7 separate regions of the Homo sapiens genome follow, and regions 2, 3, 4, 5, 6 and 7 are each linked to region 1. Evidence: promoter capture Hi-C in 16 types of primary human blood cells and fetal thymus (Javierre and others, 2016). All regions are on one chromosome and are shown on one strand. The core of a region is centred on a gene start or on the middle of the fragment in contact, and the rest is flanking DNA. Distances in the headings are between cores, read along the strand shown.

Region 1 (2,998 bases), core at 156-2,655:
CTGCTTTCATTATGTGCTAACGTGAGGGATTACTTTAGATATTAATAGGAGAGAAGTGCAAGGAAAGGAAGTCTCAGGGTATGGAATGCTTTCCTGGCCATGGCTGCTGCGCGTCATAATCCCCTAACACAGTTAAGTGGTGGTTCTCATCGTCGTTCACCCTTACAGATGTCAGAGGGGAAAGAAAAATCCAACTCAAAACTTCCAATGACAGGCTTGTCTGTATTCAAACCAGTTCATCTCGTTCGCAGACTTTTTTGAAGCTATAAGCACAGAGCAAGCTTTCTGGGCGGGGCTCAGAAGTAAACGTTAAACTCCAGGGATTCATTTATTTGAGCACAGGACAGAGGAAGTTGCCCTGAAGCAACTGATTGTCATTGATATTCAGGGCTCGCTGTCAACCAGGACCTTCCAGGAACTGGCTCTGGGCCAAGAGCAGTAGAAATCACTGGGTGGTCCGCACAGCTCGCGGGCATCTAACCTGCTTCAAGGCTCAGGGCTAAAAGGGAGCCAGGGCCCTTCCTGGAGGCGGGAACCCAAGTGGGAGGCAGAGCGCCTGGGCCCGCTCCTCGATCTGCTGAGTGACGACCCTGTACAAGTCATTTCTCTTCCGAGAGCTTCAGTTTCCTCACGTGCCAAGCGGACGGGTTGGAAGTTGGTCTTTGCCAGCTCTGACACCTTGTAAGTTTTGAGTCTTGCTGGGAATCCAGGGCGGGGCTCACGAGGAAAATCTTGGAAGGGGATTTCATGGCTGGATCTCTTCCACTCAAGCTCAGTGCCCTAATTTGACGCCTTAATAGTAGACGCAGGCTTTTCCATTTTCCAGGAGCCCCCTGACGCGGCCGCTTCCTCCTACGTCTCCTTCCTCTTCCTCTAGCAGGGGCAAAGTCTCCACATCTCCCTCTTTCTCTTCCTCCTTTGCAAGCTCCCTGCATTCCCGCGTCTCCTCCTCTTCCTCCCAGGAAATGCAATGCCCTCAGTGCGCCCACCTTTTGGCAAAGCCACTGCCGGCTGCGGGTTTCCCCTCCCCCGCCAGGCGAGCTCTGCGCGGCGGCTTCGCGGGCACACGCCTTCCCATACCTTACATGGACAAATGCGTGCAGGCAAAGTCAGGAATTCAGGCCCCTGACGTCAGCCTCCAGCGCTCAGGGCACCGCACGGGAGACCAAGGGGAGGGGGTGGGGACGGTGGGGAGGAAGGAGGGGGAAAGGCACCAACCAGCAGCCGCTCCAGCCCTGCCGAAGTTTCACTTTTTGTCTGTGGGTTCGTTCCCGGGTCCCGCGCGAGCTTTCCCGGGATAAGTAGCTTTAGCGATCGGGAGACAGCCGGGCGCTGCAAGGTAAGGGCTGGCTGCACGGCCCGGGGCGCGGGGCGTGGGGCGCTGGGCGCGGGCGGCGCGCTCGAGGAGGCCAGTGTGGGGCGCGGGGCCGGGCCTGTCCGGGGCTGGGGACAATGGGAGGGGGAGTGCCCGGGCACCTCCTCCTCTGCCTCTGCCTCCGCCTCCAGCCGCCGCCGCCGCCGCCGCCGCCGCCACCACCACCGCCGCTGCCCCGGCTGCCTCCTCCCTGAGGTATTGTTGCAAATCCTTCCTTCCCCTCACCCTCCACCCGCGGGCGCCTCGGGAACCCCCAGCCCTCCCCCGGCGCGAGCGCCTCCGGGGTGGCAAGAGCGCAGGGCGCGCGCCCTGCTCTGGCCTGGCCCGCTGTGCGGAAGTGCCGGCCGCGGCCCAATCACGGGGTGCACGCCATGGGGGAGGGGGACCCAGAGTTTTTCCAAAAGCGTCGACCCCAGGCTAGGCGGGGTTGGAGCCTTGCGCGCCCCCTGCCCGGACTTTTCTGGGCGCCCAGGGGGCGGGGCCACGCCCATCCGCTTAGAGCTTTCGCGGAATCACAGTTGTCACAGCGGAAAGGGCCTAGACCCAGTCCTCCAAGTCCTCCCATTTTACAGTTGGGGCAGCTGAGGCCCAGAGAGAAGGAGGGTCGCCCGGAAGTTATTTACTAGAGGCCAGACCATAATTCAAATAGTTGGCTCCGGACTTAAGTTCCCTTTCTCTAAGCATTTCTCTAGCACCCTGTGTGTGGCAGACCCTGTGCTGGGTGTATTGGACGTTGCCCTCAAGGAACTCAGTTGAACCTGGGAGTCAAACCTGGCCTAGGGTAGAAAATGCTAAGTGCTGGAGCAAAGGCGTGGACAAAGTTAAAGGAAGTTCCAGGGAGGGGGTTTGATTTTCTGGTCCCTGGGACGGCCTTTTGGAGAGTCCTGCACTGAATGGGGTTTTTGGAGGTTGAGGAGTTTCCTGAAGCCAGCTAGCGGCTTGGAGGAAGACATCTCTTCGAGGGAACCGTGGGCCAGAGAAGACTAAGTAGTGTGGGAAATGGAGATGAAAGTATAAATATTCTTTAGTTGGAGGCAAGGGGTTGGGGATGGGGGAGGTTGTGATATGAGATGAGCTAATCAGTGGAATTGTGCCTGGGTGCTTGGACAGGGCAGAGTCTTTGGAACCTCGGAGTCGTAGGAGAACTGAAAAATCTCTCTGGCTTCCCTTCCCTTAGAAGGGATCCACTGCTTTCCCTCCCCCAACACAAAACAACTAGCGAGAACTCAGGGTCTTCTCTGGGGCTTTTGCTAGTACCAAACTCACTTAACTGTGTTTCCAGTCCCCTTTCTCTTTCCATTCCTTCCCCTTTTACTAAATCTCTTGCCTTTCCTGTAAAATTCACTCTCACTAAGGTGTTGATGACTTAATGGCTTACCTTTCCCTGCACATGTGCATTTTAAGAAAGCCTAAAGTGAAGAAGGGGAAAGTGTGGCTAGGCACCTTTACAAAGCATCTAGCTCCCTCTCCCATCCTCCCCCTTCCTCAACTCTTATAGATAGAAGAATAGGTAAAGGTCCACGAAGGTGGGTGCTAGACCTAGAGCCTATGGTCAATAATGGTGGACAGTGGGGGGTTAGGACATCCAATATGGTTTTCTCCACTTCGTCACCAGTTTTTCTG
Region 2 (2,998 bases), core at 312-2,811, 990 kb after region 1:
GGTCTTTTACTCAGGCTGACCCCAACCCAGACTTAGGTGTAGGTGACACTGATTTCATAACATGTTTTCATATGTTTTACCACAATTGATTCCCACAGCACTCCTGTGAGATTTGGATTCTGGTCTCTGTCAAATCTACTGGAAAATGGGACCCTGTTAAGATGCAGGCTTTTCCAGTAGGAAACAGCTAATGGTGGAAGACTGGGGGCTTGAAGCTTGGGCCTCTCTCTCCAATAGCGTGACTTATTCAATCATTTCCGGTGAAACTCCCCCAGACACTTTGCTTTCCTCTTCCATTTCCTCTCTGTGTAGCTTCCTACTTTAGGATCTTCAGGAACTCTTCCCACAGTCTAATGACCAGATCTGCTTTCTGGAAACATTCTCATGTCAGTCATACATGTTTTACTACGATTTTAAAACTTTGAGTTATCTCTGTTAAGAGTATACATATTCTCATTATTGTCTTCTCCTTGCTCACTATAACAAATACTTCTTGAGCCCTTGCTATGCTCTTGACACTGGGAGTACAATGATGAACAAGCAGACATCACCTACATCCTCCTGGATTCAATATGGTTGTGGCAAGAAAGCTTTGTTTCCTATAAGTGGACTTCAGAGATCCACATAACTTATAGGCAACCATTTGTTCCTGCAATTTCAAGGTATTTTTAACCTTTAATTGTGGGTTTAGGAATATTTAGCCAAATACTCCTCCAGGTGACATATAGGCAATGAAGAGGAAACAGTACATAAAATAGTGATGTGACTTCACATTTCGAAACAAAGAGGCAGGTGGTTCTGCTGTCAAACTGAGCATTAAAATATAACTGGGGGTGTAGGTGTGGGAGTTTCTCAATAGCCCTGGAAACAGCTAATATTTTGGTAGATTCACAGGATTTTCTCTTTTAATAAAGGGGATTACTTGCATCTTATCACAGGACTAAACAGTGAAGCCAGGAAATAGTATGAGTTTCCTACTGGTTTTTGCTGAAATTTTGGAACAGATCATTACACAACTGATTCATGGGTATTTTGAAGAAAAGACACTGATCACTAGAAGTTAATAGGAGTTTACCATAAACAGGTTGTGTTAGACACACCCCATTTCCTTTTCTTATTACGCCACACAACTGGTAAATCAGCAGGATGAGGAAGTTTTAGCAGTGGACTTAACACGACCTCTTGTGACGTGATTGCACATAAGCAGGTGAAATATAGGCAGGGTCATGTCTTACACACTGGTTTCACGGGCAGGTGAATAAAAATGACGCTTGAGCCTTGCTAACTGTTCCATGTAAGCTAGAAGGAGGTTTTTGGTGAGGACTAGAAGCCTTTTATTCTGTTCAATATTTTTTGTTAATTACTTGAAAGATTATCTGGAAGAGGGAATACCCAAGTATAAAAATGACACCGGCCGGGTGCGGTGGCTCAAGCCTGTAATCCCAGCACTTTGGGAGGATGAGGTGGGCAGATCATGAGGTCAAGAGATTGAGACCATCCTGGCCAACATGGTGAAACCGCGTCTCTACTAAAAATACAAAAATTAACTGGGCGTGGTGGCAGGCGCCTGTAATCCCAGCTACTCAGGAGGCTGAGGCAGGAGAATCATTTGAACCCAGGAGGTGGAGGTTGCAGTGAGCTGAGATCGTGCCAGTGCACTCCAGCCTGGCAACAGAGGGAGACTCCATCTAAAAAAAAAAAAAACATGCCAAACTAAAACAAAAATCAAATACCATAGACTAACACAAAGAGATGGCGTAATATAGTAAGGAGAAAGAGTTCTGGCATTGGAGAGAGAATGGCCTAACCTTGCAGCTTGTCTCTGACCCCTTGACAGTGAAGTAACATTGAACAGAGACTTACTGTTTCTAAGAGTTCAGTTCCATCACCTATAAGGTAGCAATAGGGTTGTTTGTGATTCAGATCAGATGAGAATTGAAAAAGAAGTGTGTCAACAGCTAGTATCATGCTTGGCACACATTTTCAATAAATTAATAGCAATAACATTAATAATAACAGCAAATTAATATCTAAAATGATCTAGAACTTCTAGAACACAGGACTGAAAACAATGAAGCAAATCTGAACTTAAAAGATATGCGTGGAGATGATATTGGAGGTATCAGGACCATATTTATGACACTCAAGCTGCTAAGAAGTGATTAACACATGTCAGACACTTCAGAAAGTACGTTAATGATGACTTAATTATCTGTGTGTGCTTGAGAAATCACAAAGGAGAATCTTATATTGATATTATATGTGTCTGATATCTTCATATATATGAATGGCTGCCATATTGAAGAGAATATGCATATCTTTATTTGCATTTTTCTAAGAGAAAGCCAGGCTAAAATTGGTAGTAGTTAAAAAGGGAGACAATCTGGATAATATTAAAACCTTTTTCTGTAATAGTCAGAGCTTTACTATCATTGATCTGTGTGGCTTGTGGAACAGGAGACCCTTCATCACATCAGCTGGTTTTCCCTGTACTGAAAAACCAGGCAGTGTTGGTTGCATGATGAATGTATTAAAGCTTTGTTTATGCATTGCCGTGACTAAAGATCAGTTTCATGTTGGGCAGTGAGTTAAATGCTGGTGGCCAAAGGATAAAGATGTGACCTCCACCTTCAGTTAGGTCACAGTTAGGAAGAGAAGGCGCCCGTAAGTCTCTCTGAGGGATCTGAGGAAGACTTAGACAATTACTAGGAATTTTCCAGGCAGATATTCCATTTAAAGAGAGTAGCCAGTGTCAAGGTTAGACGTATGAGACATCATAATGGATTCTCAAAAAAACAAATGTTGTTGGGAGTAGACTTTTCCAGGAAGGCAAGGACCTGCAATGCCCTGTACAGAGTGTCAGGGACTCAAGACGCCTTCCCACTCTGTCTGTTGTATCTTGTACATACCCATGTTAGAGCACTGATCCCCCATATTATAATTGCTGTGGATGCATCTCCTCAACACACTACAAGTTCCTTGAGGGCAGAGACCATGT
Region 3 (2,998 bases), core at 131-2,630, 890 kb after region 1:
CCCCCTGATACTGGTGCTACTTCTGCTCATATCTTCTGCAATGGAAAAAACCCCTTTCTCCCAACCTTGTACCATTGTCTGTTACACTGGTCCCACAGTGGTATGATCCCTTACTCTCAAAGTCTTAAAGAAACGATGGGTAAAACATTCCATCCAGGTTGTTTTCTTTCCCCATGATTTGGGCACAAGTCCCTAGGGACTGAGCCACGAGATGAGTCAAAGGGTGGTCCTCAGTGTCATTCTTCCTCTATTGCTCAGAGGCACTTTTCAGGCATCTCTGCCTGGGCTTTGGCAGCTATTCCTTAGATTGACTTACTTCCCAAGAGGCTCCTCAAGCCTGTTCAGCCCTGGTCGCCCCTCCACAGTCTTCTGGTCTTTCCCTGACTGTTTCCATTTTAGGCTGAGAGCACCTGCATCTTGAACCAGGGTGCCTTTGCACTTTAGCCTGGATAACATCACAGCTCTAGATTTGGTGAAAGGAAACAGAATCAGGGAACCCCTGAGCCACAGCCATTTTAGGATGTCGCTAGGCTCCTCTACTTCCTCTTTCCTTATTGCTCCCAATTCTTTGCTTCCTTCTTGCTAAGTTGGAAGGAGCCCACCTCCCCCTAGAAAGAGGATCATTTCATAAGCTGGATTCTCATGTAGCATGGTCATTGCATTCCTTAAACTCACCTCTAGGTCCCAAATGATAAACTAAAAGCTGCTTGAGTTATTCAAGTAACAGGAAAAATATAGTATTGCAACTAAGAATCTGAACTTTGAAATCAGAGAGTCTCGGATTCAAATCCTGGCTCTTCCCTTTCTGGCTGTATGCTTTGGGCAGATTATTTAACAACTCTGAGCCTCTTTAGCACGTACTTCACAGGACTATTGTGATTAAGTAAGCACTCAATGTGTGGGAGATATTATTGTTTCTAATTAGGGAGCAAAGCAAAACTGCACATGGGGCATGGGCAAGGCACTCATGGCTTCCCTTCTCACCCCATGTGGGGAGGTGGAACAAGCTTCCTAGTCTTAGCCCTTTACTCAGATGCCAGCAATTTTCTGCCATGTTACCTGGTGATGGGGCCCTCTGGTGGCAGGAGAGAATGTGATTTCTTTTTGAGAGACCAGCTTGCCCTTAGATCTGCTTTCAAGTGGAGGCGAAGGGTTGGGGAAAACCCCAGCAGATTCTGAAACTGCCATGCACAAAGGCCTCAGACTCAGATGCTGAGCTGTCCCTGTTGCTGCAGAACTGTTTATTTCCTTAGGATGTTGAACGTAAAATATACAACTAGACACTGCCTTCTCTTGCTCTCAAAATACCATCTCAGGCCATTGCTTGAGCCTCACCCAATAATTTGGATTCTGATATGAAAATCAACTTCCCTACCTCCAGCCTTAGGATGCTTCTGTATTGTTAATGCCAATGTTAGCAGCTTGTTTCTGAATCATTGGGGAGCTCTGTAAACACATGTTGATGGGAATTGACCTATCTTCTTAAGGTTAGGTCCTTAAGAAGCCCTAAACATTGAACAATGAAAATATCCTCAATTTTAGAAATTAAAAAAAAATCTGAAATTATAAAACAAGTATTAAAAAGTCAAAGAAAGATAAACTTTTAGCTATAATGACAACCTTAACGTCCTTTTTTGAACTATCAAGAATATATTTCTTTTCCAATTTCAGCTTTTTTGGTTAATTTTATTTTTCTAGTATCTTACCTTGTGTTTTATCCCTCTTTGGGTCATCCTGATCTGCTAGGTGTATAATAAGCTTTATGTCAGAGGTGAGTAAAATATTGATAACATTTTCTATCTATAAGATGTTTAATAATTTATAGGTTACTTAGGTATCTGTTATGTTTCAAAAATCTCATGCCAATCCTGGTTAATTATGGATTTTCAAGAAATACTTTTTGAATGAAGAGGAAGGAGGAAGACGTTGTATCTTCAGATGAACAAATAGAGTCCTGGAGAGGTTGTGTGGATCTCTGGGCTAGCAGGGGTCAGAGTTGGCTCACCAACCCAGGTCTTCTCACTGCTTCTTTATATTGTATCTCAGCTGCTTGAGGCATACTTGATGATCCCTCATGAAAATGAACTCAATCATGCTTGAAGAAAAGTATGCTACACAATGGAAAGCTAAATAGTTTCTTTAGGCATTGAGATAAATCATCATATAACAACATGTAATCTGCTAAGGCTGGGAGGAACCTTATTTTATGGATGAGGAAACTGAGGTCCATAGGAAGGAAGAGCTACAAGCAGGAGGTTGCGTGGTGGCTCACCAGAAGAGCTGTCAAGGAAACCCTGGTCTCAACCCAAAGACCTCCATAAAGGAGACAGCTGAAACAAGCTAGAGTAAGCCCGGTGCCTGTCACCGTTTGTAACCAGAGACAATGACCACACTGTTCACCCATTGTTTATTCTCCAAATATTTTGTAAAGCAAAGGAGAACACTATGGGATCTGCTAACTATAAGGCCTTTCTACTTTCACCTTGTTTCACAAGGTCACAATTAAATGGGCCCTGTTCAAAAAATAGAAGGAAAACTATATATAGATTGAATCCAAACCGAAAGATGAATCTAAACCACAAAATATTGGCTTGAACATAGGGCCTCATGGTGCCTGAGTTTTAATAAACATAAAATTCTTTCTTTGGGGAAACAACATGATGGGGATACAGATTAAAGAGTACGGTTTAAAGGGTATTGCAAAGACCCTGAGGCTTGGAATGAGGAGTGTCAGATTGTGGAGATGCTTTCAACACTTCCACTGACTTTCTCTGTGACCTCGTGCAAGATGTTTCTTTCTTAGCCCTCAGTTTTTCCATTCACACAAATGACAAGGTTGGACTGCATATCATGCAGGCCCTTTATGGGATCTGACCTTCTGTGACATTAAGTGTTCTCTTTATTTTTCATATTTTCACCCCTGATGGAAGAACAATTTGTTGACTTACTAAGAAGCAGACTGTCATAAAAGCCAATCGTCTGCTTAACTCCATTACAA
Region 4 (2,998 bases), core at 329-2,828, 810 kb after region 1:
AGCCCCTGGATAGAATCCAGCCTTTCATAACCTTCTTATCCTTCATGACTACTGAGATATGCAAGAGTCAGTAATAGTATTTTTGTTCCTTTCCAAGTGTCAATCACCATAAAAGTTACTGCCTACCTGGCATTGCTCCTGGCTAGATAGCTGGATGATTTTGGTGAGGAAGAAAAAAAAAGAGATACAAGGTAGAAATAAAACTGCACTCTAGAATTTAAAATTATCTCGGCTATACTCAGCAAGTAGGAATGTGTTCAGAGTCTCTGGAGACGTTTTTTCATGATGCTTGGAAATCAATTTCATATCCTAATGCTGTTCTCAAGTTCAGGCTCATGGAAAAATCTGCTTGGAGGGCTCTCCTTGCCCTGGAAATAAGAATGGTACATTTCCGATACCCATGTTCTCTGCCTGTGCCAGGCTCTCCTTGCCCTGGAAATAGGAATGGTACATTTCCGGTACCCGTGTTCTCTGCCTGTGCCAGGCCTCCTTAAATGATATGAACTGTGGCTAGCAATGTTTTAAAATGACCAAAATCATCACATTAGATGATCACCTTAGACAAGGTCAGAGGTGATCCAAGTCAATGGCTAAGTAATCCTGAGGGTACAAAATTCTCTAAACTTTGAGCCTGAAAGAACTTAGATGTAAGCGACAAAAGACACTGCAAAGTAGCTTTACCTAAAAAAAAAAAGTATACATTTGTGGAAAGCAGAACTTCAAAACTCCACTCTGGAACCTCTTCTGAAATATCTGCAGGTTTGACCAGAGAAGTAATTCACGCTGTCAAAGCTTTAAACTGAGATGATAGATGATATGCTCTTGAGGGCAAATATGGGAGTGAAGGCTGGACATGAATCTGATAACCAGCCACTTACTAAGTTAATAACAGGACAAGTGACCTTGTTTCTCAGGGCCTTACTTTCCTCATGTATAAAATGGGGATAATAGTCCCAAGCCCACCCATCTCACATCACTGCTGGGAGGAGCAAATGAGACCATGGATGTAACATACCTTATAAATAGGTCGTGACGTATTGCATACATGGAAGAGGTTGTATTATGGTTAGAACTAAAAGGCTGTATATATTTCAGAGGCAAATATTCAGATTCAAGGCATGTGGTTAGAGGGAGGTACTGCCTTGTCTATCAGAGCCTGGTTTCCAAGTGCTGATCAATAGACTTACAGAATTCTTTTCTCTGAGAGCGGTTGCCCCTCCAGGAATTCCTCCTTGGAGGCAGTTATTGTATTTGGCTGCTGACCTGTGTGTATCCTCAGTTACTGTGTGAGCTCCGCGAGTGTAGGGACCATGACTATTGTAGGAGCATAGCACAATGGTGAAATGTGCAGGATTTGGGGCCAGGCGACCTGGGCCAGTCCTAGTTCCTGGCTTTTCTGCTTATCCACCATCTGGCTTTGGGTGAATTATTGAACTTCTTCAAGTCTTAGTTTTCTCACCTCTGATATGAAGATAATAAATATACCTACCTCATAGTGATGTAAAAAAGATTAAATGAGTTGGTATATGTCAAATCTGGAACATAGAAAGTGCTTAAGGAATGCTGGGTATTTATTATTATTTTTATTTGTTACTGTTGTTGTTCCCTTCATATTTCTAGTGCTTAGAACAATGTTATGTTATGAATAACATAACAGTTATTCAACAAACAGATAATGAAAGACTGCAAAAGAAAGTCTGCATCCCAGCAGATACTTACACCAGGATTAATGAATCCTAAGGGTCAGAAAAAAATGGAAAAGGACTGAATCATGTGGGTTGGGTTTGCAAACTTTAAGGCCTATTTTGACATTTTGTCTTTACCAATAACAAAAACACATCTACTATACTGAATATTGGTATAACAAAGAATTCTAAATAATTTTTAAGGCCAGTGTCTTACTAGATTCCCACACCAACCTTGTGCGGGAAAGTATTATTATACTATCCACTTTGTAGATAAGGAAATAGAGATTCAGAGAGAGGAAATATCTTGTCTGACCATCACACATCTGGTAAACAGAGGTGCTGAAATTAGAAGTTGGTCTTCTGGCTCATTGTTCGTTCCTCTTCCTGGGAACGAACGCAAAGCTAATTCATCCTGGCACTGCGTCTCTGACAGAGGCGATGGAGGGCATTTTGCGGAAGAGCCTGGTTTGTCTCCCTGACTGCAACAACCAAATTAGGAGTGTAGCTCCTAGATATCTAGATTCCCTACAGTCATTCATTAAGAATCTCTCACCTGTGAGTTTAGCTAAGGCTTTGTGAAGCTCATTTTCAGCTCAGCCTATACCTTGGTTTTGAATCCTATTTTCCTTGGCATATGAAATGTGCGTCACCTTCATTGCTCTGGGTTTTCCCCGGTGAAAGCTTAGCCGATACAACCAGTCCCTGCTCTGAGCATGGAAACCGGAAGCCCTGAAGGTTTTTTCAACGTAGGCTATTTAGGCAAACTAGACATTGCAGTTTAATTACACCATTGCTCAACTTCATAGATCCTTCAGATTGCCTTCAGAGAAAAACATTTCTCTCAATAATTCAAACCCCTGATAATTTCCTCTGAGAAATTACCAGCAGATTGCAAAAACAGCATAGTTATTCACTACGTGACCTTTTCTTCAGTCCCATTGTCTTGTACCGCTCTGCAGCATTGCATATTTTTGACAATTTTACCTCTAGTACCTCTTGAAATTTAACGTTACTCTGGTTCTCCTATACCTGCATCCTGGCCTTCTCTAAAAACTTCGTAGCTTTTTCCTTCTCTACCTTATAACTTTGGACATTTCCCTAAGTCTAAACCTGTGGTCCTCCGTTTTTTCTTCTCTTTTTTTCTTTCTTTTTCACCTGCTCTGCCAGTGTTGTGCTAGGCACTAGGAAACAAAGACATGTGAAACATCATATCTAACCTCAAGGTTAGATACTGACCAACAAATGCTACCTCATTAGGTATATCTTACTGTTATATTAACTTTATATATGGGCTAAACTTGTCTCCTGTA
Region 5 (2,998 bases), core at 366-2,865, 600 kb after region 1:
TTTTCTGTCCTACTGATGTGTGGGGCTATTTTTATGTTTTGTTCTTCACTTTTTTCTGTACTTGTGATTTAAAGGTGCCAGACTGGTTACCCTCAAGGCTAGTGTCCCCACTGTATCCCAAGAATAGAAAAAATAATGAGAGGCAGCAAAACTGGCCTGTGTCTGAGTCCAGCATATTAGGCTGACCCACTCTAGAGGAATATTCTCCAAAGCATAAAGTAGAAGATCATTCCTTAGGAATACAATACAGTCCATCTGTTTTCATAGCTGAGAAGGCAATTCCGTGTCATGCCATCATGGAGCCACTGCAGTGTTTTGGTATCCAAGCCATAGTCACTCATTCTCTCCGTGAGGGAAAACTAGAATGTCTTTTCCTCTTCCACCTTTACCTTTCAAAATTCCATCCTTGAAGGTTCGGCTCAAATGCTTCTTTCTCCACACAACCTTTCCTGAGCCCCTGTGAGTGTGGTTTTCCTTCCACATTCCATAGCACTTTCTTCTAAGACGTGTTACATGCTTTGCCATGTGACTATTGCATGTAGGTTGTCTTGACTGTGAGAGGCACTGACATCGTGACATCGTCGAATTCATTTTTGTATATCACACAGAAGGAGAACATAGTCGTGGGCAAGAGTAGATATTTGAGGTTGAATAGATGGACCATTTCAAAGCTTATCTTTTCAGCCTGACCTTTAAGGCTTTGCTCTGGCCGTTCCCTCTAAATCAGTGATTGAAGTTTGCTCCCAGATCCTCATGAGTAGCTATCAAACTCTCCATAAGCCATGTAGGCTCAGGTTCTTGGATTCCAGGTATTACACTTCGGGCATCATAGTCTGAATCAAAATTGCTACTTTTAGCTGCTTAGTAGACTGCCATTACCAATAGTTTAATGAGAACTACTTTTTTAGGGGACGGGGGGAAGTGTGGTCCACAGATCCCTGATAGCCCTTCGTGTACTATGTAGTGAATCTGCTTGACATCTAGAAAAGGGAAGAGTAATATAGAAAAAGAATTTTGTTGACCTGCCTGCATTTAACAAATGTAAAATGTAAAATTACAGCTTTCACAGGAATCTAATATGCTTTTAATAATCATATGGATTGGTAATCCATTTACTCCTAATCCCTAATTCGTTTTCTGCAATGAAATGTTGTCAAAGGGTGGCATGAAGCTGTTAGAATTTAAGCATGATTTTCAAACATAGCACATTTTTTTTGTGGTTTTGTTTTTTTGGTTTTTTTTTTTTTTTTTTTTCAGAATAATTTCAAAAATAGTGCCATATGAAATAGTTTTGTTACTGTTGGCAGGAAAGTCCAAAATGTTATCTCATAATAAAAACAGGTACAAGTTCAGTCTTGGATAAAAACTTTTGAAGTCTGCCACAAACAAATACTATACAAAATTTTTTCATCAAATGTCAAGACTGTGGTATCAAGACTTTATAATGATATCAACTGTAGTGGTGACAGCTTAGTTTCCAATACTTTAACTCTTTTTCCAGCACTTCATATTTCTTTTTGGTTTGAGATGAAGTCTCGCTCTGTCACCCAGCTGGAGTGCAGTGGCGCCATCTCAGCTCACTGCAACCTCTGCCTCCCGGGTTCAAGCGATTCTCCTGCCTCAGCCTCCTGAGTAGCTGTGGTTACAGGCACACACCACCACGCCCAGCTATTTTTTGTATTTTTCATAGAGATGGGGTTTCACCATGTTGACCAGGCTGGTCTTGAACTCCTGACCTCAGGTGATCCACCCACCTCGGCCTCCCAAAGTGCTGGGATTGAAGACATGAGCCACTGCACCCAGCCTTCATATTTCTTATTCCTTAGGAAAAAAACTAAGATGTATACTTTGGGTTATATTTAAAGTCACATTCAAATCCCACAACAGGATATAAAGAAATACTTTTCAGGGCCAAATACAACTGGAGAGGATTAGAAATAAATTTACCTTTTTTTCTCTCACGTTGAAACATCTAGCCCTCCCATGTTTGAGTGTGAAATGGCTGTCAATCCAATGTGATGGAGTGCTGAAAGCCGTCTTCAGTGAGAAGTCTCTCCATAATGCTCCCTAACATCAGATCCATGTTAATCCTGATGCACAGAACTGGGAATAGGTAATATAGCATAGTGTTTAAGAGCACAGATGCTGAAGTTAGACTGCTTAGGCTGGAATTTAGTTAACCATTTGTGTGACTCAGTTTCCTCATCTGTGAAATAGGCATAATAACAGTACCTGCATATAGACTGTTGTGAATATGAAATGAGTTAATATATCTAAAGCCCCTAGAAAAAGTCTGACATATGTGAAGCACTACATTTGCTATACCTTATCTATCAAAGCCTACAGCTTCTGGCTAACATTCCCAGTGTTCTATAATTATTAGATAGAATTTTTTTTAACTTAGTAGAAACAAAGACTAAGAAGGGAAACTAGATGTGGACGTGACGTCTAGCTCAAGATTCCCATGATGGAGCCACATAGAGATATGGATGGCAACCAGCATAATGCCTCTCACTGACATAACTATTTGTCTGAATTTATATTTTATTGTTATTATTTAAAGCTTACTGCAAATTTTAAAAACTGAAACCTGATGTCCATATGTAGGCCAGATGCCACATTAATCAATTTAAGAATGCTGGAGCTTCGCAGAATACTGCATGAACAACGAGAACCGTGGCCCTGAAAGACTCAAAACCCTACAGTATATGAAACTATTGCAGGATGTGTGGATGTTCAAAGGAATAACAGACTTGGAAGCAATGCTTACTGAATTTTGATGTATTAAAGGATGTCAAGTCCAAGAGAGAGATAAGGTCTCAGAAGACAGAACTAGAACCATGGGGTAAGCAGTTAGAATGAGGAAGCACTATGGCTCAGTAGGAGAAAGAACCTTTTAGCCATCAAAGCGATCTAGAAATTAAAGGACTGCCTTGGGATCTGCCTGTCACTGAGAGCTGGCTGCAGAGGTTTTACAATCAGGGCTTTTGTAAAAGGA
Region 6 (2,998 bases), core at 138-2,637, 580 kb after region 1:
TCATCAATATGGAATACACATTTTCATAGTAGATTTGTGGGTTGCATAGCTTTTTTGTGTCTGTTTTCAATTTCTGTTCCTTTGATAACTGAACAAATAACAGAGATGGTGAAACCCAGCAAGCAAATTATCTTCCAGATTTTATGTGATCTCCCTTCTCTAGTGAGTTGGTATGTCTACTAATGACACAGTAGATTATAAGGTTATTTGGTTTAAGTAAATATTTATGCAGAGCCTATGATATGTCCATCTCTGTCTTAGGTGGGGTGAATTAGAATTACTATAAGTGCTTTCTGAAAAAAAAAAAAATGTACCATGAACAAATTTAGAGGTCTCTGCCCCCAAGAAGTCCATAGACCATTATAGGTTAGAGAATAAAAAATATATGATAATCCCTTTTCCCATGTGATAAATGTTATAAAGGAGCTCTGTACCTATGATTATGAGAGGGAATGTTTGAGAGCTCTAGGAAAAACCTCCCTAGGGAGATTAAGAGGTGATATCTGATGTCTTCATGAAGGAATAAAATGTTTCCAAGTAGAGAAAGAGAAGAAAGATGTTAGATACAGAAGAAACAGCATGTACAAAGGTATAGAGGTAGGAAAACATGGTATTCTGGGAACAGGAAGATGTTACTTCCTAACAGAACTTCTCTGTGGCTGAAGCCACATTGAGTTGAGGGACAAGTAGTGGGACAAGGAAGGATAGAGAGTCTGGAGTTCAGTGATAAAAGATCTTGTGTGATAGTCATAGGAAGGATGTTTTGGATGTTTACCTGTGCAAAATGGGAAATTGTTGACTATTGTCAAACAATGGGTAACATCAGATTAGTGATTTATGTAAAACTGAAGGGATAACCATTTCTACTGCTGTATACCACTTGGATAACCTTATAAAGCCACTTAATAGGGAATAATGGGGCTGGAAATTTAATGGGAATAGATTTAAAGTGCTTGTGGGATAAGAAACATGATATTGCTCTCTTTTGTTCTCTTTCAGTTCAAAACAGGAAGTGCCTAGGTATGCAGAAATGCAAATCAAGCCAGCTATATTTTTGGTGTGTTTTGTGTGTGTTTAGATTTTCACACATCAGCAATACTGTAAGAACACTATGTGGCCAGGCACAGTGGCTCACGCTTATAATCCCAGCCCTTTGGGAGGCCAAGGTGGGAGGATTGCTTGAGCCCTGGGAGTTCAAGACCAGCCTGGGCAACATAGTAAGACCCTGTCTGTACAAAAAGTGAAAAAAAAAAAAAATGGATGGGCATGATGGCATATGCTGTGGTTCCAGCTAATCTGGACGTGGAGGTGGGAGGAGGATCACTTAAGTTCAGGAATTTTTGGTGGCTGCAGTGAGCTGTGACCATGCCACTGCACTCCAGCTTGGGCAACAGAGCCAGACCCTGTCTCCAAAAAAAGAATACTATTATGTGAATAATCCACCAGATTCAACTAAAAAATGGCCATGATGTTTTAAAAGTACATATATACACACATATAGATTTAAAGATTACTTTCAACTTTCTAAGAAATTAGTAGATCTTTAGAAAATCATTGTGCGTATGTGCATATGTGCATTGTTTGTGCTGGTCCCACCTTCAAGGAGAAAATATTTCAAGATCCTGATGCTTACTTAAGAGGTTGTATGTGTTTACCATGGAAAGGACCTTGGAAATCATCTCCTAATTCTGACTTCATTATTTATTTATTTTGATGAAGCAAATGGTGCCCAGATTGAAACAGGAGTGTAAGCCACAGCCACCAAGTGCCAGTGCCCAGGCTAACACTTTTCTCCATTAACTCTGGAAACCTTATTTCCTTTTTGTACCACGTATTTACAGTGTTTGGTAGTTATGAATTGAGTGAATTATCCCAAGGTTGGAGATATCTTGGTACTCACTTGTAAGTGGAGAAACACTAATAGGAAAATATTCTGGGAATCTGGTAAGGAAGTATGAGTGAATTTATCATATTTAACCTTTGTTCAAATACATTAAGCCCTTTCTTCCCTTTGTCATTCTCAAACTGGATCGACATGATAGGAGGAGAAATTTTATCAACTAAAAGGGGTTGTGTCAATAAGTGTTTATGATACCTCTAAACTTAGGCCTTAAAACAACACAATCTGTGATCTGACAGTTCTGTAGGTTAGATGTTCAACATGAGTCTCATCTGGCTAAAACCATCATGTTAGCAAAGCTGCATTTGTCTCTGAAGGTTCTTTCTAGGGGAGAATCCCCCTTGCTTTTTCTGACTTCTAAAAACTGACCACATTCCTTGACTTGTGGCCCTCTTTTTCCATCCTCAAAGCCTGTAACATAGCACCTCTGACCATTTTTTTCATAGTCATTCTGTGTCTGGCCCCAGCTGGGAAAAGTTCTCCAATTGGTAAGGACCTACTTGATTAGATATGACCCACCTGAATAACCTCACATACTCTTCCTATCTCAAAACTCTTAACTTAATCCTATCTGCAAAGTCCGTTTTGTCATATACAGTAGCATGTTCATAGGTTTCAAGCATTTGGACATGGTCCTCTTTGGGAGGCATTACGCTGCCTGTGACAGTGCTCTTCTGATACATTTTCAGTGATCTTCTAGACATAACAATCCTGGTCCTGGGAACATGCATGGCGGGGACCTAAATAAGTCTATTTTTTAAGAGGCCCTACCCTTTGCATAGATTCTAATCTTGGGGTAAAGGAAAGTTTGAGATTTCACTCCACCTTTTTTTTTGGTGCTGGTATTTCCACTGTGGGAAAGATCATTCGGATTTAACAACCACATGAAGCTCCTGGATTATCTGGGGCATGTTTGCTGATTCCCAAGGAAGCTTGATCTTTTTGATGGAGCACTTGAGCTGGTAAGTTATTAGAAGCTGAGCTATAATTTTCCTTGGCATTGGTCATTTTTGTCTAATCTTTTATTTTTTTGTTTTTTTTGTTTTGTTTTGTTTTGTTTTGAGATGGAGTCTCACTGTGTCCCCCAGGCTGGAGTGC
Region 7 (2,998 bases), core at 230-2,729, 540 kb after region 1:
AGAGAGAATCCGTCTAAAACAACAACAACAACTCACAAAGTAAATTCTATTTACCCCATTTTATTTTTGAAATAACTAATAGGTAGTAAAATTCAGCATCCTGCACTGGATCATACAATTGGTAAGCTGTGGATGTGGGATTTGAACCCAAGTAAGCAGACCCTAGAACCTATATATCTAAGGCATACTGATTACTATCAACGTTCAATTTTTTGCTTTGTTCTTTTATTTCTCCTTCATATACCTTGATTTCCTGACTGGATTATAAATTCTATGAACTGGTTGCATCTCACTCATTTTGATGACTGCTTTAATGCCTAATTAATTACTATTATTTGTGGATAATTTAATATAGATTTCATAGGAGGCTATAGTTTGCTACACTGCTCGTGTACTCTAGAAACAAGGACCCTTGACTTTTTTCTCTTCTTTGGCTATAAGCTTATCTTCTTACCATGTTGAGATACTTTGATTTGATTTTCACTGGTCAAGCAAAAAAACATGTTCTTGTTATTTTCACTTAGGCACTTTGTCTGCCTCCCTGCTGAGGCCCAAAAATTCAGTGTGATCGGTGTGTCTGTCAGAAGGTAGGATTGCTTGCCTAGGGTGGCATTGTTATTGAACAAAACACATGCCCTTTCTTTGCATCCTAAGTGTCTTGGATTGCTGAGCCAGAACCGCTCTGACTCAAATGAAAACCACCTTGTGTTAGGTGAAAGATGGGGAGTTAACCATTTGTTTGCTGGTTTGCATTTCCCACGAAAAACTCAAAAACAGAAATTTACCTCGCCATGGAAAGTGATGTGCCAAGCGTCATATTTGCATATTAAAACCGAAAACTGATTTGCATGTTATTTCAGTGTCTTGTGTCACGTTCAGGCATCTGTCAAGCCCACTAGACAGAAACAGCTTGTACAGTAGGAAAGTGTTTTTATGCATATCAGACTGAAAATCTAGGTGCCTTATTTTTATCAGCAACTTGTCCACACTTTGGGCTCTCCAATCTCTCCTAGGTTCATACCTGAAAATACTAAAGAAAAGTCTGGAACCCCATGTTTTATAAAGTATGTTTCCTGTTATTTTCTAAGAGCTATCCATTTTTATAATATTCTGTTTAGATAATTTTAAAATTATAAAGAGAAAAACTCAAATTAATCATAATATCACAATCCTGACATAAGTCTTGTTAACATTTGGATATATTCACTTCTAGTAGCTGTTTGATAATACTTACATAGGCTAACATATACTGGCCCTTTTGCATATATATTTTTATACATTTGTAATTATCAGATGTACTATTTTCATATCTTCTTATTTTTTGGCACTATAATGGCAAGAATTATGACAATCCAAGTATCTAAAATAACAGATTAATAAAATCTTATTTTGAGCAGACAGGAAATTAGAACCAGTCAGGGCTGGAGCCGTGGCAACCGAAACTCTGTGCCGTCTTTTTGATAGTGCTTTATTAAAACTGTAGCTTGTAATTGAGGATAGTTTTTCTATGGGACAATGCATAGAAAGCTGTGCATGGTGATAAAACCTTTTTTTCCCGACATTAGAGCAACTAGCCCATTGCATTCTTCCAGGCAACCAAATGAAGATGAAACGTGTGCCTGGAGTCACTGCCAGGCATGTGGGGCACAGCAAAGGCCAAAATATGGTTTTAGTTTGAAAACCCAACCTTGAATAATGGTTCATTCTATTCATCAAACTTTTAGGTCATGGGTCTTGCCTAGGTGAAGCCATCCAATGGAAATAATGTCTTGGAATTCTCTTGCCTTTATTATGTCAAATCTCTAATATATAACATCCATAAAGCCTAATTAATGGGAAAAACTGAGTGTATGTTTTAGCCATAACATTGTGGAAATAGGTTCTTTTAGTTTCACACAAATAGAGATCTTCTCACCCCACCGAGAAAACTCGCTTTCTCCTTTACGGAGGGCCCGCATGGAGGTTTAGAGGGAAGGAACCCTGAAATGAGAACTGTGAATAAGGTTGGCAGGAGATCTTTGACCTAGATTCTCCTCGACTCTGAGGATTTGGCGCTTCTGCTCTGCGACTCGCTTTTCTTACTTCTTGCCTACCCGGCAGGATAACATCAGTGGTTGTACCTTGTCTGCCGAAGCCTAAGGGAGGCTGCTCTGCTCTAAATAGCCAAGCATGAGCTTTACTTTACTATTTGTCTTTTGGTCCTAAAGGCGAGACTGTACAAGAATTAATAGTTGGAGAGGCAGCAAGGCATACGTTCACCAAATGGCATGAATTTCAAGATTTGTAGCTAAAAAGTACTCAGAGTAATTACATCCCTTGCTAAAGCAACAATTAATGTGAAATTCGGGTACACTACACTGAAGTCCTTTATCAGCAGATGGAAAAGTGGAGAGTTACTGGAGAGATCTCATTCTGCAAACATTCTGCTTCCAAGAAGAAAATCATCTTTGTTAGTGGTTTCTAAGTTGTCCCTCTTGATAATTATAACTGACATCTATTTGATATTTAATATGTTACAAAGCTTCTTCATATGAATCAGATATTATTATTCTCCAGTTTATATATGAGAAAATCAACAATAGAAAAAGAAATCACTGGAGAACTTAAGTAGTATCTTAGACATCAGGCCTAAGAGCCAGATGCTCCAAGCCCAGGCACTATTATAGCTGCCTTGACACGTGGAGACGGAGAGAGGTGGGTGTGGAGAGACCTCACTTTCCCCCAGCTCAGCCTAGATAAAACCCTTGTGTGCAGAGACCAGGGCCCCCTGACTGGATGCCCAGGCCTTTTCCCAGCTGCAGTAACTCTTCCAACAACTCCTCCTGTCTGTAATTCAGAATCATCCATCCTTGGCTATGACTCCAAATTTGGTTTAAGAAAAGGCATTTTATGGGCATCGATGCATGGCATGAGAAAGGGAATATGAGGAAGTAGAGATTTTAAGAAAATCAAGATTTCGAAAGTTGAAGATCAACTGGGATGAGTTTCAAAGCAAGAA

Evidence for each region. Contacts are between HindIII fragments. The CHiCAGO score rates a contact against its expected background, and 5 or more counts as called.
Region 2: a fragment that was not itself captured here is called in contact with the fragment with the promoter of LPP-AS2 in region 1 in 5 of 17 cell types (activated CD4 T cells, neutrophils, total CD8 T cells and 2 more); the score reaches 7.9 in activated CD4 T cells.
Region 3: a fragment that was not itself captured here is called in contact with the fragment with the promoter of LPP-AS2 in region 1 in 1 of 17 cell types (fetal thymus); the score reaches 8.5 in fetal thymus.
Region 4: a contact is called between a fragment that was not itself captured here and the fragment with the promoter of LPP-AS2 in region 1, in 1 of 17 cell types (erythroblasts). The highest score is 5.7, in erythroblasts.
Region 5: a contact is called between a fragment that was not itself captured here and the fragment with the promoter of LPP-AS2 in region 1, in 2 of 17 cell types (neutrophils and activated CD4 T cells). The highest score is 6.4, in neutrophils.
Region 6: a fragment that was not itself captured here is called in contact with the fragment with the promoter of LPP-AS2 in region 1 in 2 of 17 cell types (naive B cells and total CD8 T cells); the score reaches 6.9 in naive B cells.
Region 7: a fragment that was not itself captured here is called in contact with the fragment with the promoter of LPP-AS2 in region 1 in 1 of 17 cell types (neutrophils); the score reaches 8.5 in neutrophils.

Annotation. Positions count from the first base shown.
Region 1 is chr3:188,152,683-188,155,680 of GRCh38, forward strand. LPP-AS2 (LPP antisense RNA 2) reads right to left here and starts at 1,406. Exons shown (of 1, transcript NR_036497.1): 1 at 1-1,406. It overlaps LPP (LIM domain containing preferred translocation partner in lipoma), which reads left to right and starts at 1,475. Exons shown (of 12, transcript NM_001375462.1): 1 at 1,475-1,570. RefSeq lists enhancers at 10-910, 2,710-2,998 and a silencer at 1,343-1,682. The HindIII fragment of the contact is 6,292 bases long and covers 280-2,998 here.
Region 2 is chr3:189,143,670-189,146,667 of GRCh38, forward strand. It overlaps a transcript of TPRG1 not described here. Among named protein-coding and RNA genes, the nearest start is that of TPRG1, 27 kb to the right of the region's middle. The HindIII fragment of the contact is 1,946 bases long and covers 589-2,534 here.
Region 3 is chr3:189,040,613-189,043,610 of GRCh38, forward strand. It overlaps a transcript of TPRG1 not described here. Among named protein-coding and RNA genes, the nearest start is that of TPRG1-AS1, 94 kb to the left of the region's middle. The HindIII fragment of the contact is 751 bases long and covers 1,006-1,756 here.
Region 4 is chr3:188,962,769-188,965,766 of GRCh38, forward strand. No RefSeq gene overlaps it. Among named protein-coding and RNA genes, the nearest start is that of TPRG1-AS1, 17 kb to the left of the region's middle. The HindIII fragment of the contact is 1,577 bases long and covers 791-2,367 here.
Region 5 is chr3:188,756,656-188,759,653 of GRCh38, forward strand. All of the region lies in intron 8 of LPP (LIM domain containing preferred translocation partner in lipoma), which reads left to right. Among named protein-coding and RNA genes, the nearest start is that of MIR28, 69 kb to the left of the region's middle. The HindIII fragment of the contact is 1,892 bases long and covers 670-2,561 here.
Region 6 is chr3:188,728,580-188,731,577 of GRCh38, forward strand. All of the region lies in intron 8 of LPP (LIM domain containing preferred translocation partner in lipoma), which reads left to right. Among named protein-coding and RNA genes, the nearest start is that of MIR28, 41 kb to the left of the region's middle. The HindIII fragment of the contact is 2,886 bases long and covers 1-2,830 here.
Region 7 is chr3:188,696,568-188,699,565 of GRCh38, forward strand. The region is part of intron 7 of LPP (LIM domain containing preferred translocation partner in lipoma); the gene reads left to right. Among named protein-coding and RNA genes, the nearest start is that of MIR28, 9.3 kb to the left of the region's middle. The HindIII fragment of the contact is 2,080 bases long and covers 440-2,519 here.